Linked DNA regions of Homo sapiens: region 1 is linked to region 2. The links are contacts of gene promoters, found by promoter capture Hi-C in blood cells and fetal thymus (Javierre and others, 2016). All regions are on one chromosome and are shown on one strand. Each heading gives the region's core, a stretch centred on a gene start or on the middle of the fragment in contact. The rest is flanking DNA. Distances are from core to core; before and after follow the strand shown.

Region 1 (3,451 bases), core at 319-2,818, 180 kb before region 2:
TTGGTGTTAAATGAAAAAAAATAAAAGGGCTTCAGGAGAAGGCTCTGTTCTGGCAAATAATCATTAAATGTTTACTAGTGCTGGAGTCAGCCCTGGGGCTAGATACAGAAGCTCCAAGTCTAGATGGGGAGACAGAGCTGTGGTAAGTGCTGGGCAAGTGGGTGGGGGTGGGAATGCTGACCCAGCCTGAGCGGGTCAGGGTGGACATATCAGGGAGAAGAAACCCATGCCAATGGAACTGAGAGGAGCTGGCATGGCTGCCATCCAGGTAAAGGGAGGGGGCAGGTAGGCAGGGAGGATGCTCTGGCCAACGCCGGGTGGAGGTGGCCTCCAGCATACAGCGGGTGTTCAGTGAAAATGCTTGCAGTGTCCAAGACCCCTGCATCCGAGGAGGACAATTTGAGTTTCTGGACGGGAACCTTCCCAGGTGAGGGGGAGTACAGAGCTGAAGCTTCCCCTCAGGAGTCGTGGGATCAGATGGGTTTTGAAAGGAAAGATTTTGCCTGTGGAGGGGTCTTGCTCATCTGGGACTGCCCAGAGTCTGTTCTTGAAGGAGGCAGCATCGCCACCACAGCCCACCAGGATCCTGATGGGAGGGAAGTTTGTCAGCCAGAAGGCAGCAGGGAAGCACCCAGGTGCCCTCTCCTGGGTGCTGGGAATCCGGGCAGGCACCCGGACATTTTCTTTCTCTCTGTCCTGTGTCTGGCACTCTCCTTGCCCCAGTCCAGATGGAATGGGCCACAGCTTGAAGTGGGGCAGAGGCGTCAAATGAGGCCCAAATTGAGTAGGGCAGGACAAAAGCTGAGAGAGACACCCCTGGCTAAGATCGGTGGGGGGGCCTCCCTGTGTGGAGTGAGCGTGAGCCTGCTCACGTACTCACCTCCAGGGAGAGGGAGTGAGGAGGAGGCAGGCCCCTGTCTTCCCAGGCTGTGGAATGTGGCACCTCGGGGAAGCTGGCCCCTGGACCTGGGACTATTCCTTGCAGGACTCAGCTGTCCCTCCCCACCCACACCATCTGCCCTGGTTCTGGTCGGGCTGGTTTTTCCTCCCCTGAGGACTTGGAGAGGAACACCAGGGGCCATCCTGACCTAGCTTACTTGCCCTGCCCTCCCCCTTTCCTGGGTTTCCACGTCTCAGGAAGCCATTGAGATGCAGCAGAAATGGCCAGACCTGGGCTGTGCGGAGGCTCAAGTCCCGAGAGCATCAGCCTCCTGACCCGAGTGCGGCTTTGGGCTGCTCATGACATGGCCGGCGCTGCCCTGTCCTGGCTGCTGGGCCCTTCAAGACAGTGAATAGGATTCTTCCCCATCTGGGCAAGAGCAAGGCTCCCCAAGAGACGGCATGGGTCCCAGGGCTGGGGGATGGTAGTGGCAGGGATCTTGCTCAGCTGAGACCGTCCAGGACTTGGCCAGCATCTCTGGCACACAGCAGTGCTTTGTGCAGGGTCCCTCTCTTTCATCACTCCCATTTGTCATCAGGTCATAACAGCAGGTCTTGTCTCTGTCCTTTACTCTCTAGCCCACCACTATGGCTAGATTCAGACCCTCTCATCTCTAGCATGGACTATTTTAAAACACCCTAAACTGGGTTCTTTATCCCTGGTCATCCCTGCTTCCCTTGACACATCAACCCATTTGCCACACAAAACCCACATCCCATCCCTGATGAAAATGACTTTCCATTGTCTTGCTTACAGCTCCCCCACAGCTGACCTTGTCCTCAACGACCCCCTTCCCTCCCCTCCTGCCATGGCCCAACCATATTGAATTGCCAGTAGTCTCCCAAGCTGGGCCCGGTTACTCATCTCTTCCAGGCCCCCATTCTCTTTACTCTTCTGCCTGAGAAATACCTACTGGTCTGTCAGCTTCTTGCTCAAGGGTCATGCCTCTGTAATTAAATAGCTCTCAATGCCCCCAGGCAGACATAATTCCCAGTGTCTACATACTTGATCACATTGATTGGTTTGAGGCATACCTCAATACTGGGTCAATAGCTCTAGCCTGATGGCCCACATGGTGGCTCCCACTCCAGCACCCCCTAAAGATCTTCCAGTTATTTCAGAAAGTCCCCAGGGGAATGCCTCGCATGTGCCCACAAGGTGGCTGCTGTCTTGCATAGAATACCCTCTGCTCTGCCACCAGCTGTAGCCCCACAGATCCACGCCACCACCTGGGAGAGCCTTGTTGTCTGTTGTGAGAACACCCAGGGGGGCCAACTTCAGATGCTTCCAGACGATGGATCCTTGGAGAACCAGAGTGGGAGGGCTTTCCTCAGGTGTAAGTCATCGGCTGCAAGGAGCTCTCCCTGTACTCAGACTCTTCCAAAGTTCTTCTTGTCCGTTTTGCCTTCTTGTTTCATAAAGAAGTAAAACTAGCCTGGCGGACCCAGGGGTGGGGGCACGAGGATGGAAACCCTTTCCAGGGTCTCTTTTCTCCTCACATCTAGTTCTCCCTCTTCCAAAACTTCCTCTCTCATTTCTCAATTCAAGGCTAGGGTTGGTGTGGATGAGCAGAGACAATGATGTCAGTGGTGAGTGCAGGGAGGGGAAGAGGGTATTGACTATATGAAATTTGGCTAGTTCTAAATGTCTGTGGTTTAGTGTTACTTAAGAAATTATTTACTTTAATTAACAAGAAATACTAAATACATTCTTATAAAACTTAAAACCATAGAGATTAAGCTTAGGTTCCTATTGGCTACCATCCTTCAATCAGATTCCTTCCTTACCTATGCATATATTCATACATATTCATATGGACCTTAGCAATAAGTCATCTTTTGAATGTATGTTGACATGAATTTATCATATTAAGTGTGTTGCTCTCCAACTAGATTTACTGTACCCAACAACTAGTTTTTTTTTTTTTTTCTTTTGAGATGGAGTTTCACTCTTGTCACCCAGGCTGGAGTGTAATGGCTCGATCTCAGCTCACTGCAAGCTCTGCCTCCCGGGTTCAAGCAATTCTCCTGCCTTAGCCTCCCGAGTAGCTGAGATTACAGGCACCCGCCGCCACGACTGGCTAATTTTTGTACTTTTAGTGGAGACGGGGTTTCACCATGTTGGCCAGGGTGGTCTCGAACTCCTGACCTCAGGTGATCCACCCACCTTGGCCTCCCAAAGTGCTGGGATTACAGGCGTGAGCCACCATGTCCGGCCCAATAACTAGTTCTTTAGGGTTTTCAGTGTCACTATTCATTGTCATTACTCATTCCATTTAATTTCTAGTCCTCCACAGCAGGATGTTACATAGTTACTGAACGCCTCCCCGCCATTAGTGATTGTTTGTGTCTTTGCACTGTAGCAAACAATGCTGCATAGGGCATCCTTTTATATGACTTCCTCAATACACGGGCCAGGGTTTCTTTCGGATGAACACGAAGAGTGGAACTGATGGCTCAAGAAGTGCATGAATGTTAAAAAAAATGATGACATTGTCAAATCGCTCTGCAA
Region 2 (3,700 bases), core at 590-3,089:
TTTTCTCACCATTTCTCCATTTATCACAGATTCTTTTTCCTTCTCCTGATCTCTGATTGGGAAATTCTCCAAAGTTTGGTCCTCAGCTCCTTGTTGCTCTTCTCTTTGTACTCTCCCTTGGCCCAGTTCTCTAACTCTCTCACTTGTACTAAACCTTATCTGTATCATCATCCCTGCCATAAATTCTAGTCTTGCATGGACTGTTGCAATAGTCTCTTTGCTGAACTCTTTGCCTCCAATCTTTCCTTCATTTTTCAAAAACAGATAAATATTTGCTAAAACATTTCCTAAAACACCTTTTGTCACACCACACTTAGGTTCAAAAGCTTATACTGGCTCTACAGCTTCTGGGGAAGTCCAAGCTGCTCCACTTCACCATCGAGACCCCCTACCATAGGGTCCCCATACAATCCCCCATAAAGCTTTAATTTCTAGCACTTCCCTTCACAACTCTCCCCTTCCTGCTGCCTAGACTTACCCTGGTCCTTCAACCATGCCTTGGGCTTTCCCACCCCATTCCTGTGTGCACATTATTCTCCTCACCTGCACTTCCTACTTTTCTCCCCTCTGCTTCTTAGAAGCCTCCCTATCCCAGCACAAATCCATTCATCCATTCCTAAGAGCCTCCAATCCTGGAGCTGCTCGCCCTCCCCAGTGTGTAAACCACTCAGTTATCACTTGTCAACTTCTGCCTCAGATTATTATTTCCTGTTCATCCCTTCATCACTCTACCCACACCCATTCAACAGTGCCTACCAGGTGCCTAGAGCTGGGGATTCAAAGACAAACTAGACCCTGCCCTTGCCTTCAGGGACCTCAAATAGAGACAGAGAGACAAGCACATAAGTCATGACAGTGTCATGCTCAAGGTAAAAAGAGAGCTTGGAGAGGAGAAAGGGACGGCCTGTCTGAAGAAGGGAAGGAAGTAAGCCATTTATATTTAAGCCAAGTGTTGTGATGAAAAGAAAAGTGATCTGCTTTGGAATCCTAGGTCCACAACTTATTATCCTCACCCTCTATGCCTTGGTGTTCTCATCTATAAAATGGGAATTATACAGTTTACCTTTAAGAGTTCTGGTGAGGAATAATGGACATCTAAGTTCTGCATGTTTGAGGATCATGTTTGTAAAAAGGATCTAGTTTGTGAAAAGTGTCCACACTACCTTGGGCTTGTGCAGTTTCTTAACAAGTAAGAACTTCTTCTGACCATAGCATTGAGTCCTATTTTCCACCCCTCCCAGTGTCTATTACATCGCCCTGGATGAAATTGTCATAGTGGATATCTATTATTTGGTTGATTGACGTCATCATGGACATGAAAAAAGCCCATCATATCAGGAAACATGGCCATCAGGAACTGTCCCAGAAAGGATCTATTCCTCTTTCTGAGAACCATGAATTTGGAATTTGGCACTTGGAAATGTGACCTAGCAAAAGACACAGGGCAAGAGCTATGCTTTTCCATTTCACCAAGGAGAGCCAGAGCTTGCCAAAGAGTTAGGGGCCTCAAGCCACAAAGCAGAACAGCAATACTGTCTCTTGACCTGCTGCACCCCACTGAAGAAGGCCAGGGCTTTCATGAGTCCAGGTCTTTGAAGTCACACCATGAAGCTCTTACATCATGACACACAGCATGGAAGAGGAGTCCCGACTTAGCGAGAAGCCCAAGTAAAGTATTTTATGAGGGGAGAGACTCTTCTGAAGAAACACAACAAATGGAGGGAAGGGCTTTTGACAATCACCAAATGAGCAAAAAAAAAAAAAAAAAAAAGGGGTTGTCTTACGTGTCCACACCCTCCATGGACGAGGTATAAATGCTCCCTGGAGGAAGGAGACCCACCGCTCTACAACCTGGAGATTTTGGACTCTGTCTTCAGCTGGACACTCCCTCCCTGCACCATGTCTTACAGTTGTGGCCTGCCCAGCCTGAGCTGCCGCACCAGCTGCTCCTCCCGGCCCTGTGTGCCCCCCAGCTGCCACGGCTGCACCCTGCCCGGGGCCTGCAACATCCCCGCCAATGTGAGCAACTGCAACTGGTTCTGTGAGGGCTCCTTCAATGGCAGTGAGAAGGAGACCATGCAGTTCCTGAACGACCGCCTGGCCAGCTACCTGGAGAAGGTGCGTCAGCTGGAGCGGGACAACGCGGAGCTGGAGAACCTCATCCGGGAGCGGTCACAGCAGCAGGAGCCCTTGGTGTGTGCCAGCTACCAGTCCTACTTCAAGACCATTGAGGAGCTCCAGCAGAAGGTGAGGAGTGGGCGACACAGTGCCTCCAGTAGGAAGTTGTCGGGAGAGAATCCGAGTTGTGATTGAGAAACAACGTAAGCTCTTGATGTGAATGAAAAGCTGAAAACTGGCCTTTCCATTTTGTTTTTTGAGGGCCCATCTAATACTAGACTTGGGACTGTTAGGTCTAAATATTTGCATAGTGTTAGTCTATGTGGAGGTAGCAGCACTTTGCATAAATGAGCTGTAATTAAAAACTACCTCTGAATGCTTCCATGCACCTGCCAAGCTCCAGAATTATTACCCTGAGGTGAGAGAAAAGGACTGAGTCCAAAGGAAGCTGGGGAAACGGAATCTTTTGTAAAGACTGGGCCATTTTCTTTCTCCCTCATCTGAGCTTTTTGCCCCTTGGACTGCTGGCTGCCTCTCTCTTCTAGGTTCCTACTTATCCTGATTTCATTGTCCTCACCTTCATGCCTCTGGGCTTCTCCTGGTGCACAGTGTCCAGTGAGAGCCTAAAATGTTTGGCCCAAATTGGGAAGATTGGAAATTACCTAGGACAAAGTAGTCCCAGTTGTCTGGGACATCTGGGAACATGTGGCTTCTTCCCTGATCCAGTCCCCTGCAATTGCTAGTTTACCTATTTGTCTTTTCTGCTTGATTGAAAGTTTCTTGAGGGCAGGATCAAGTGCTTACCAATTTTTGTATCCTCAGCTCCTAGTATCATGCCAGAAACATAGTAGGTGTTTTTCATAAATGTCAACTATTATGATCAGCTTCTCAGTATTGCTCATTAGGATAGAAAAAAGATTATCTACTTATACTTTTTGCATATTTTGGTGTTCTTTTTTTGAATATAATTTTGGAAATATTCATTGAGTACCTGCTGTATATAGAAAGCATTTAATAAGATAGACATCCTGATCCTTCCAAGGAAGTGAATTAGGAAGGACTGCCATTGGTGAAAAATTACCAAGTCCTTGCTCATTCTTGAATGTTTTGGGCCTTCTAGATCCTGTGCAGCAAGTCTGAGAATGCCAGGCTTGTGGTGCAGATCGACAATGCCAAGCTGGCCTCAGATGACTTCAGGACCAAGTGAGTGGGCAAGCGGGGTGTTGCTGTTTATTTCTCTTCTCTGGCAGCCCTCCTTTCCTTTAGCCTGTTGTCAACACAAGTTAAACAAACAGTGACTGAGCTATGTTCTAGCTGCTTTCTCCAAGATTCACAGAGCCACCACACACCGTAGCTCAGAGATCCTTTCCCCAGGCCTTAGACTTCCTTTCCTCCTTCTTCTCCTCTGTGACGTGACACCCCTAGTCGTACTGTGAGTTAGTGTAGACGTGTTGGCCCCCGATGTTCTCCTATGCACAGAACCCATTCATGAGAATGGAGAATGTGGAAGCATATTATTTTGGAAGTCTTACAGTTTGTCAGCTTTTATCCTAAATCCACTGGCTTTCTTCTTTTTTTTAGA

The links. The method cuts DNA at HindIII sites, captures the fragments that hold promoters and counts their contacts. A CHiCAGO score of 5 or more calls a contact.
Region 1: a fragment that was not itself captured here is called in contact with the fragment with the promoter of KRT33A in region 2 in 1 of 17 cell types (naive CD4 T cells); the score reaches 5.2 in naive CD4 T cells.

The regions. Positions count from the first base shown.
Region 1 is chr17:41,533,789-41,537,239 of GRCh38, reverse strand. No RefSeq gene overlaps it. Among named protein-coding and RNA genes, the nearest start is that of KRT19, 7.2 kb to the right of the region's middle. The HindIII fragment of the contact is 2,229 bases long and covers 454-2,682 here.
Region 2 is chr17:41,348,967-41,352,666 of GRCh38, reverse strand. KRT33A (keratin 33A) reads left to right here and starts at 1,839. Exons shown (of 7, transcript NM_004138.4): 1 at 1,839-2,247; 2 at 3,239-3,321. The coding sequence starts at 1,900. LOC105371778 (a long non-coding RNA gene) reads right to left here and starts at 1,170. Exons shown (of 2, transcript XR_001753056.1): 1 at 1,064-1,170; 2 at 1-245. The HindIII fragment of the contact is 4,412 bases long and covers 425-3,700 here.